Regions from separate parts of the Homo sapiens genome. Here region 2 is linked to region 1. Evidence: promoter capture Hi-C in human tissues and cell types (Jung and others, 2019). All regions are on one chromosome and are shown on one strand. Each heading gives the region's core, a stretch centred on a gene start or on the middle of the fragment in contact. The rest is flanking DNA. Distances are from core to core; before and after follow the strand shown. Region 1 holds the start of OLIG1 (oligodendrocyte transcription factor 1). Region 2 has its middle 6.7 kb from the start of LINC01690.

Evidence for each region. Contacts are between HindIII fragments. The study calls those that stand out against the background at their distance.
Region 2: a fragment that was not itself captured here is called in contact with the fragment with the promoter of OLIG1 in region 1 in 2 of the 25 tissues and cell types used here (IMR-90 fibroblasts and dorsolateral prefrontal cortex).

What each region holds. Positions count from the first base shown.
Region 1 is chr21:33,067,466-33,072,960 of GRCh38, reverse strand. OLIG1 (oligodendrocyte transcription factor 1) reads right to left here and starts at 2,820. Exons shown (of 1, transcript NM_138983.3): 1 at 548-2,820. The coding sequence starts at 2,714. The coding sequence ends at 1,899. The HindIII fragment of the contact is 10,124 bases long and covers 655-5,495 here.
Region 2 is chr21:32,949,449-32,954,943 of GRCh38, reverse strand. No RefSeq gene overlaps it. Among named protein-coding and RNA genes, the nearest start is that of LINC01690, 6.7 kb to the left of the region's middle. The HindIII fragment of the contact is 5,013 bases long and covers 1-4,931 here.

The sequences.
Region 1 (5,495 bases), core at 1,571-4,070:
GTCAGCCTTCCAAATTCTTTTTAAGAGCACCAAACAGACAGAAGAGCTTTCTTCACCTCTTAGGTGAAGACAATTCCAACCTGATTTAAATGATAAGGGGTAGGTGGGTGCAGCAGCGGGAAGCTCATGCTTGTGTGGTATTAAGCTTCTGTCCAAGGATATAGAAAAGGTGGATATCCTGGAAGGATGTTGAGCTACAATTTTATGATAAAGGTATTGCTTAACCCATTTTCCAGGGGATGAAGTTGTAGTTAAAAAAGACCTATGCCTGAAGCTTGGCAAAGAATGAATTCCTGGAATTGCCTCTCTCCCTTCTCTATCCCATTCTCTATCCCACCCACCCACTTACCTATAATCCTCATATTTCCCACGAATGCCTGAACTTGAACTACAGTTGCCTGTTCATTGGATTATTTTACAAATCAGGAAGTCACATTTTAAAACCTGGGACCCCGGTCATTTACCTACCTTCACCCCAAGGTTCTAAATCCACTAGGATACAAGGACTTTTTTATTACCAAACAAATCAGACAAAAAATGTAAAAAATCAGACTTTAAATGTTTTATTTTGTTGATTCTGTACACCGTCAGGAAACAAGGTTAGAAGTAAAATAAAGTGCCAGTTAAATTCGGCTACTACCAACAACCAAAACCTTAAACATAGAAAATCAAAGTAAACTGCGGAAAGGTCATAGCATAACCTTGGGTAAAGGAATTTGTTAACGTCTGTAACAAATCGAAACTGACTACGTATGTAGCTCTTCAACTGCAAGACGGCGAGAAGGAAGACCTGCGGGCCGCGCTGGTCAAGGGCCCGGCCCGCTGAGGAACAGCGGAAAGCGCCTTCCCGCCGTCGCCACCGCAGCTGGGATCCGCCGAGCAGCGGGCGGTTCAGGGCTCCCGGTACTCCTGCGTGTTAATGAGAACGTTCATTAGCGCTCTTGACAGGACGGCGACTGTGAGACGCCTGGTTACCTATTTTAGTAAATCGGGAACACTGGATGCAAGGCGGTTGGTTTTCGTTTTTAAGCAAGCTTAAATGTTGGTTACGCTACTTTTGGGGAAAGGGAAACGAAAGGTGAATCTCGAGTTCTAAGTTGCTTTCTAAGAAACCCCCAGGATTTAAGAGCGAAAACTCTCTGCGACAAAACACTGGATACGCGAGTCTTAAATACAGCTCTCCAAACAGCTGGTCTACAAAAGTGGACCCACGTCCCAACCCAGCGCACCCTGCGTTGTCCTCGCCCCTACCCACCGCACCCCGACGCCGACCACCTGTCCGCCGAGGGTCCGTCCGTCTGCCACGTCCCAGACCGTCTGCACCGCCTAACTGGTCTTTTTCTGCCTCTTGAGTTCCGGCAGCCTCCTTTGATAGGACCTGGCCGGCGGGAACAAGGGCGCCCGTGGCCTCTGGCGGAGGAGAAGGAAAAGAACCACCCCTCCGCCCCCGCCACTGCTCGAGCGCAGCCCCTAGTACTGGGAGCCGGCGTGCTCCGCTCCGGGGAGGTAGCGCTCGGGGATGGCCTCTCGCTGCACCCGGGGCGCGCCAACCACGGCAAGGCGCCCTAAGTTCTACATCGGCCCCGCGAAGCGCGCAACTCCAGGGACAAGGAGAGAGATGTGCTGGGTGAGAGCGAGCACTTTCTGCCTAAAGCCGCTGGAACCGACCCAGAACCCCAAACTGCCCCGAGGCGCCATCGAACATCCGCTCTGGTCACTTTAACGTCCCAGGGGTGGGGGCGGGGAAGGGGGTGCCCGACAGTCCCTTCCTCTGGACTGGAAGGTTCGAAATGCTTTCCTTGCTCGGCCTCGCTCTCCCAGACGCAGGGAGCAGGGGCGCGGAGAAGCTGAGCGAAGGGAGGCCGGGCCGAGGTCGCGCCCCAGGCCCAGGCCCGCCCTCACTTGGAGAATTGCGCCTGCACGGCGGCCAGGCCCAGGCTGGCCGGGACCAGGTGCGGGAACTTGCACACGGCGCAGGTGCAGAGGCCGGGGCCGCCTGCGCCGCCGCCGGGGAGAGCGAACTGGCCGCACGGCGGCTCGTCCAGCGCCAGCGACAGGTACTTGGCGGGGCGCAGCGCGTCGGGGGGTCCTACGGCGCCGGGCGCCAGCAGCACGGAGCCGGGCGCGGCGGCGAGCAGGGGCAGCCCGGCCAGCAGCAGGCGCGGCGCGGCGGGCCCGGCGCCCTCGCCCAGCGCGCGGCGCAGCTCCTGCAGCGAGCTGCCCAGCAGTAGGATGTAGTTGCGGGCGAGCAGCAGCGTGGCTATCTTGGAGAGCTTGCGGCCGGGCGCGCCCTGGCAGTGCGCCGCTGAGTAGGGCAGGATGACCTCGCGCAGGGCGTCCATGGCCAGGTTCAGGTCCTGCATGCGCTTCCGCTCGCGGCTGTTGATCTTGCGCCGCAGCTGCTGCTGCTGCTCCTCCTTGGCGTCCGGCCGGGCGCTGCCGCCCGGGTGCGCGCCTGACCCGGGCCCGGGGCCTGGAGGCTCGGCCGGCGCCTCCGGCTTCTCGCGCGCAGCCTTGGGGAGGAGGGGGGCCGTCGTGGAGGAGGAGGAAGTGGAGGAGGTGGAGGAGGTGGAGGAGGAGGAGGAGGAGGGCGGCTGCCTGTAGCCCACCAGCTCGTAGAGGGAGGCCCCGAGCTGCAAGTCTCCGGGCCGCTGTGGCCGCAGCATGGTCCCGGGGACCGCGTTCACGCGCGCCTGGGAAACCGCATAGTACATCTGGGAGGCGGTGGGGGCGGCCGAGGACGCCCTTCAGGAACGCCCTGGGGTGGGCCGGTCGGCAGGCCGCCCCTCCCCGCGGACCTGCGCGCGGGGAAACGATGGTGGGGCCCTGGCCCGCGCCCTACCCCTTTAAACCCGGCTTGGGAACCTGCGGGGCAGCGGGTGGCGGGGCGCAGCCAATGGAGGCGCGAGGCCGGGCGCAGCCGCGTGTTCATTGGCTGCTTGTGCCGGGGCCGCGCGGAGGTGCGGCTGGCACCGCTTTAGGAGGTTATTGTGAGCGCCTGTGCCAGCCGCGCGGGACAGGCCCCCTGAGCGGAGTAAGGGCGCCTTTTCAAGGCAAGCGGGGCTGTTGAAGGAGGACTGGTCGCACTGGTCAGGCTGCAACTCACGTGCCTTCCTCCAGCAACTGTCTACTCAAAAACAACCTCCCTCATATTTTTTTTTAACTGTGATCACATATTCATAACATAAAATTTACCGTCTTATGTTTAGAGTACTGTTCAGTAATGTTATATGCATTAGTGTGCACATTAAATTGATTTAAATTAAATTCACATTGTTGTGCAACCCATCTCCAGAACTCTTTTCAACTTGCAACCCTGAAGCTCCACCCATTAAACAACTCCCCACTCCCCCCGACCCAAGTTCCTGGAATTCACTCTTCTGTTCTGTCTCTATGAATTTGTTCTACTCTAGGTCCCTCATATAAGTAGAATCATACAGCACTTGTCTTTTAGTGACTGGCTTCTTTCACTTAGCATATTGTCGTCAAGGTTTATCCATGTTGTAGCATGTATCAAAGTTTCTTCCTTTTCAAGGCTGAATAATATTCCAGTATATGGATATACCACATTTGGTTTATCCATTCATTCGTTGATGGACATTTGGGGTGCTTTTGGTTGTTGCGAATTATGCTGCTATGAACATGAGTGTATCATGTTTTTTTTTTCTTAAAATACATAATTTCCTGCCAGGTTCAGGTCGCTAAATTTCTGGACTAAATGACAAGTAGCATTAGGATATTTCCTCCCTGCTGCTCCCAACCTCCTTCCCCATCCCTCTGATTGAAAGGTCTTTAGGGACAAAGGAGCCTTTGGGTCGGGTTTCTATCCTCCCCGAAAGGGATGGTCTATCAGCAACTTGACATTTGCTTAAGCAAAAGTCACTCAGAAATTGGCCTCTTATTAGAAACAAAACAAAACACCCACATAGTCCTATCGGTTGAGGGTGGGAATGAATCATTTTATTTGCCAAATAGAATAGCATTACTTGGTGTCTATGGACATTTTCTGCCCCCAGCACCAGTGCATGCTACTATAACTTGTCAATGTCCTGGGGAAGAGGGCATCTTGGTGGCTGTGCTTGCTGGTTTCAGGGCTGCTTTGTTCTGGTTTTCTTCCACCAATATTTGCCACATGGGTTCACTCTGATCTTTGCTTCTGACCCCCAGCTCTGCCTGTAGCATCCTGCCTATGCCTCAGGTTCAGCTCCAACCTTGCTTTCTTCTGGAAGCCTTGGTGATTTCTCCTCTTCCTCCTTTCATGACTCTTGGCAAACCATTGATAGGATTTCTTCATAGCCTATTGTGTTATGTAGATACCATCTCTGCATTTGGCTATGATTGTTTTACGGTAGGGACCACCTGCTCATTTCTCCATCTTCCTGAAGCCTAGCACAGTGCTTGGCACTTACTGTGTGTCCTGGAGGTCTCTAAAGATGGTCTGAAATCTCCCTTAGCTCAGAGGCTCATCCCTTAAATGCACAAACTCCTGGCAATGCTCTAACCCAAGCATTTTCCTAAAGGTTTTATAGAGAGGGAAGGAACCTGGTAAGATCTCCTGCCTCTCAGAGGGGCCTGGCCTGACATGGACGTGGTGCTGGGGGCCCCACTTTGGGAGAGAGAGGGAAGCCTTGGTAGGAAGGAGCTGAGTGCTTAAGCAGAACCATACTAAGCAGGAAGGAGAGAGAGAGACCAAGGGAAGGGTCTTGAATGTTTCAAGCAATTAAGTTTAACACCTCACTAATCATTTCGCCTTCTGTTGAAGCAGCTTGCTTTCAAGTCATTTTTACAGACACTTTCACGTTTGGTTCTCATGGGGCCCCTGTGAGCTGGGCATTTTTGATCCCTTGATGTCCATGATATAACTGAGGCTCCCAGAAGGCAGTAGATTGCTCTGTGCCTTCAGACAGGACAGGCAGAGCGGCCCCACCAAGGACTGGCTTCCTGAATTCCCTCCAGCAGAACCAGGCTTCCAGGAAGCCCAGGAGGGGGCCATGATGGGGCGGGTTGGGGATTGGGTGTAAGGATGGAGGGGCCAGCCTAGACTGTGCCAATATTGATGAGTTGGTGGGTTCCAGCCATGTTCCCCAAGAGAGTGTCCCCAGAATCCTGCCACCATAAACCCTGCTCCAGCCTCTTCGGCAATGCCCACCCTCACTGTCAGGACCCTCTGTCCTGTAGCTGAGGTGCCAGATTGGGGCAGGCCCTGGTGACATCCCCCTCCGGCTTCCTCCCCTGCACACAGCCTAGGTGGGGCCCGTAGGGTCTTACCCTGCCAGCAGAAAGAGGAAGTGAATGGGGAAGATAAAATCTAAAGCCTTGGCCTGTTGCCTAACTTGTACGCTCCCCATTTCCCACCCACAGGAAGGGGCACCCAGGAGTCAAACAGATGGAAACACACACATGCTGCCTTTCCCCTCTAGAAGCACCCCTCTTTCCTGTGGGTGTCCCTGAGGGTTTTCTTTAGACCTAAGTCTCACCTTATCTCCTCCTTGTAA
Region 2 (5,495 bases), core at 1,176-3,675, 120 kb after region 1:
TTCATCTGGACTTATATAAAGGATCCAAGCTAAGAAGGGAGGACTCTCTCAAACAAACTTGAATTGGGACAGTCGACAAAAGTTAAAATGCTTTTAGATGCTTTTGACGTGAGCACCCAAATTAGAGAGAAAAAAAAAGGGAGGGGGGTGTTCATTTATAACGCATAAACTCAGCACCCTTTAAGACTAAAACTATAGTTAGTTAAAAATGCTAGTTGACACGGTTGAGTTTTCAATCCGCAGTTGCAAAAGGTGTATGTGTTTGATAACATTTGTTTTGTGGCTTAATAGGAAGTCAGAACAGAGAAAATTTAAGATTTAGGCTTACGTGCTTCCTACAACGGTTTCCAGAGAAAGATTTTTTTTTCTAGCCAATTTTGATTGAAAATCGAGATTTGCATCACAATGGAGATAGCTCAAAAGTGTAAATACAAAAGGCTGCAACTTCAGAGACTTCTTGGTCAGATGTGTTGTTTTCTGGTATATCATCTCATAAGGGCTTTGGGAAGGGGCTTCTCTCAGATTCAGGCCAGAGGGGGCTATGTTCCCCGTTCATTGCGAAAGGTCACACAGCCAACTCCTTCTGTCAACTCATATAGAACTATTTAATGCGGGGGAAGGGAGTTAGCAATGCTTCTGCTTTTGAGGAAACTGTTTACATAATTTAATTCACAGATATTTATGGTGGGCTGAAAGGGAGCATATTAGACTATCCAATTAATTCACATCAAAAATAAGCCTTTCAGAGATTAACAAAATCAGACAAAATCTACATCCTTGTGTTGTTGCAAATTATAAACATTTTGATATTCCCTCACATAATTGTGGTCCAAAAATTAGACAAATTCCTTTATTGGAGTCCACATTTGCATATCACCATACCAATGAGCAGTAGTAGTATCAATGTTTTTCCTCTTTCAATTGAAACGAATTTGTTTGAATTTTTATTTGTAATGTGATCAATATTTCAGTGATTTAGCTGTCAGGTTCATGTTGTTCTCACAGAAATGTTAAAAGCTTAAAAGTTTCTTTTCCATAACTCGAAATGCAAGGTTATTCTAATTTTTTCCACATTCCTACAATCTTCTCATCCTGTGTGACGACTGTGGAACAGATCAAATTGAGAGCTGCAAAATGTCCTATATCCACTAACATGTTTCTTTTTTCTTTTTACACTCCAGGTTCTATTTTTCTCAGCCTATTCCGGGATCTGGACACATGAGAGAACAAAACATATGACATCAACTAAAACATCACTCGATTTTCACACCAGTTTTTATACAAGTTGATGTCTTTTGATAACCCTTTAGGATGAAAAGTGCTGACCTGTGTCCCGTCTTCGGACTTTATGTCAAAATGTAGTAGCTGGGTGCGTTGGCTCACCCTTGTAATCCCAGCACTTTGGGAGGCCAAGATGGTTGGATCATGAGGTCAGGAGTTCCAGACCAGCCTGGACAAGATAGTGAAACCCCATCTCTGCTAAAAATACAAAAATTAGCCGGGTGCAGTGGCGGGTGCCTGTAATCCCAGCTACCCGGGAGGCTGAGGCAGGAGAATTGCTTCAACCCAGGAGGCAGAGGTTGCAGTGAGCCGAGATTGCGCCACTGCACTCCAGCCTGGGCAACAGAACAAGACTCCAACTCCCCCCCAAAAAAAAAAAAAAAAAAAAAAGTTAGTTAAATGGAGCCATTTCCCTCCCTGGCTGTTTTATTAATATAATCCCTGGGTAACAGATAATTGTTGGTATATCTCTGCCTTAGGTTGTTACCATTCTTGTACAAGTTGGACTGAACCTAGCAAGGCTGCTATCTCTGCGTCCCAATTTAGTCATTTGTTGCCACACAGTTTCTGTGTTTTCTTTCCTCTCCTGTTCCTTGCAAGTGGCACAGTGAGGCATAAAATTTTTCCTTTAGCCTAGATAATCTGGCGTAATTTTCCTCAATGCTTTCCCTTTCCACAATGGGAGTCAGGTTTCCATTTGAAACAGTTTACTTCTACATAATAAGCCTTCTCTCTCTCTCTAACTCTCTTATTCTCTTTTTTTCAATCCCAGAAAATTTCATTGCAGTTTAGAATCTCAATAAACAGGCTGCTGTTGCCATAAACAATCAGGGGAAAAAAAGTGGTGTTGGCAGAAAATTTAGATCATAATTTGTCTGACGGGACAAAACAGGCATGCCCTCTGCTTTGTCTTTGTGTATATTTGGGGTTATTATCAGTGTTCTGGCTTCTAAAGCATCTTTCTGTGTTAAATACGGGGCTGGACCGTGGAAAATCAAAAAACAAACTGGCATTTGGAAGGGCAATAACTTTCCTCGAAGAAAGGAGACAGCTACCGTTGGCCTATTATTTCAAACTTACTTCTGGTTCTCCACATCTTCCAAGGTAACAAATGAAGATGGTCACCCACCTTCAGTCTCGCAGCAGCAAGAAAGCAACAGAAGCCTTCTCTCCAGGAATTAGTATAGGAAACCTGTTTGCTTTTAAAGTTCCGAGTCCTCCCATAGAGATGAAAGGGGAATTAAAGTGAGTTACCCCTGAGGAATCACCAAAGGAAAAACGGGTTGCTTTATCTGGGCTCTTCAGAACTCTTTAAGACTTGAAGATCTGGATTGAAATCCGTATAATACGTTCATTCACTAAGTCAAGATTAATAGCGTTGGTGTTGTGTCCTCCGGGGAGGGCCTCCAGAAGGCATTTGGAAATAAAGGTTGTCTTACTTTGAAATGCTTCCTCCACAGCACAGAAAAATTGATTTTTCCCCCAGTAAATATTCTTTTGGCATCTGATTTAAAGTCACTAAATGCTTTCCTCGCTAAAGATACCTTTCTCTGTCATCTCTTTCCGTCTCAAATATTGCCGGCTCTCACTGCTTTCTCCCTTCCCTGGCATAACTCTGGTTACAAATAGCCACTAGTGAGTGATATTTTGCTCTCACTTCTTAGCCATCCTATATTTCAAGGTTATCCCATTCTTTAACACTGCCCTTCAGGGTTTTGATAACAATCCTTGAAATCGCTGTATTTAGGACCAGAAATCCTCTAAGCTTGCTTTTCTTCTTAAACATGTTTTAAAATAAAAGTGGAGGGAAATCATTCTGAATTAAAATAGATTTCATATTAAGTTAGTAGCAAAAATGTGGTTTTATTTGCTTTCTGCTTTTTGCCCTGGAAAATGGGATACAGTAAAAATAAAACAGAACCCAAAGCACGATTAAATGAAGCAGGTGGCTCTCTGCAGGTAGTAAAGCAAAGAAGCAACTTGCTTTGGAAAGTTACATTCTGAAATGTACATGACTGTTGGGCAAGCTATGAAGCCTGCTGCATACTTTCAGAAGGACCCCTTCTGCAGGAACCTTCCAAATACAGTTTCAGAATTTTTTTTTCCTTTCACAATCTTTCATTCTTTCTTTGCATCTGGTTATGGTCCATTTTTAGTGGTTACTTTTTGCACGTTGGGAAGATTTTACTTTTCAAAGGCCTAAAACTGATGGCAATGCCTGTTGGCTCATTCTAAACCACCCAGACTGCGACCAGGGTTTCAGTCTGGGTTGTGCATGGGGCGATAAATCCTGGCGAAGCAGCCCTAATCCTCTACAAACCCCTGCTGCAAATTCTGTCCCTGCCATTGTGTTTTCTAACCAACTTGGGGGAATACCATATTGATCCTAAAAATGGGCAGCTTCTTAGCTTGCAAGTGGCTCCCTTTAAGAAGCACAGAGAACACGGCCTCAGGAAGCAGGGATTGCATCTCAGGGCAAAAGAAAGGGATGAGGTAAGACCCCGCAGAGGAATGCTGCCTGATGTGTGTGCTGGTTATTGTGAGTTGGTTCAGTGTTTCTGTCAGCTGTTTTACTGGTGTCTGATTAATCCCGCTGGTCACCAGGGGTAAGCCAGGGTTTCATCTGATCTAAGAACAAAACTTTTCCTCTTTTGGACAGAAGGTGGTCTGTCCAGGTCAGGGTATGGGTCACTGGAAGGGCAGCCTTCGGAAGCCTGCGTTTCACAGCAACCACTTGTTACAATTAGTTTAAAAAAAAAAAAAAAAAAAAGCCAACATGCGGTGAATTGACACTTTTGTGGGTCCCTGAGTCTGGACGGTGCAATTGTTCTGGAAAACAATGTCAGGATCTTCATTTGAAAGTGGAGAGGGTACAATGGTATTTCAAGTAGCAAAATCCCCACGCTCTGAGCCATGTGGGGATTTCATTTCCTTCAGTGTCTAGAACCCTATTCCCCTTCTCTGTACCAAATCCAAGTGTATTAAATGAAAATGCACAAATGAAGAAGGGTTAAGTTGAGCAAGACGGCATCTGTGCATGCTGTCCTAGCCTGCTCCTCAACCGGGCTGACAAATCATTTGCAGAATTGAAATTAGGAAAAGGTCCCTTGACTCTTGGGACAGAGTGCCCTTGGACTCTGGCAGAGTCTAGACAGTAACCCCCCTCTGCCCGCCCCACCCAATGTCAATTCTGTTCTGCTTCCTTTGCAGTAGAGGCCCCAGTTTATACCTGGGCACAGGTCCACGTGGAATAACAACACTGCATTTTGCAGTATTGCTTCCAGCTAAGTGTGTCCTTGAGACTAAGTCCTAGCCAAAGGCTGAAGGTAGAAGTGGTATACAACTTCCAGAAAGCATACTGTAAGGGAAGGGACATTCCCTTCTTTGCTCTCCTTTCTTCCTGCTGACTGGAATGCAGACGTGATGGCTGGACCTCTGGTGCTATAAGAAGCTGTGCTAAGGAGGTAGAGCAGCCCCTCAGGACCTATGGAGCAGAGCCATCCCACCAACCCTGGGCACATGAGACAGAAATAAACTTGGGTCATTTTCAAGCCACTTTTATTTGAGGCCTTGCTTTCAGACAGATGAACCTAATTCTAACAAAGGCAGATGCTAAAGAGATTCTCACTTAATCCTGCCTAGTCCGGATGAAAGTTCTAAAATATTTGTTTCTAGAGACTCCACTGGAAAAGCCAAGTGAGAAGATGTCACCAGTCCCACGTGACAAGCTGGCCTGGCCCTGCCCCAGAGGAGGGTGGTGACAAGGATCAGTAAGCTCTTGTGAGCAAAGCTGCGTCTGCAGGAAGCCAAACCACCCAGTCATGCTGTCCTTTCATGCTAATTGCTGTTTGATGCAAAGCCACTCAAACAAGTCTAGGGACATTTATCAGATAGACAAGGAAAACTAATTCTCCACTAATTTTTTTTTATTTTCAACTGATTTTTGTAGCTTTGTGTGGACTCTTCACCTGGTTAAACAGGCCCCAGAGATAGAGAAGGAGAAATATTTCAGCTGCATTGGGACAAAAATAAATAAATAATAACAAAGGCTAGAGGATCTCAAAACTAAATGCCAAATGGGGAATTATTTGAGCTTAAATAATTTTCTTTTGCAAAACGAAAATTTAGGAGTTTTGCTTTCAATTTTATGTTTTCTAATACAATTAAAGCAAGGCCTGGACTGGTGTAGAGAAATGTGTAGAAAACACTGAATA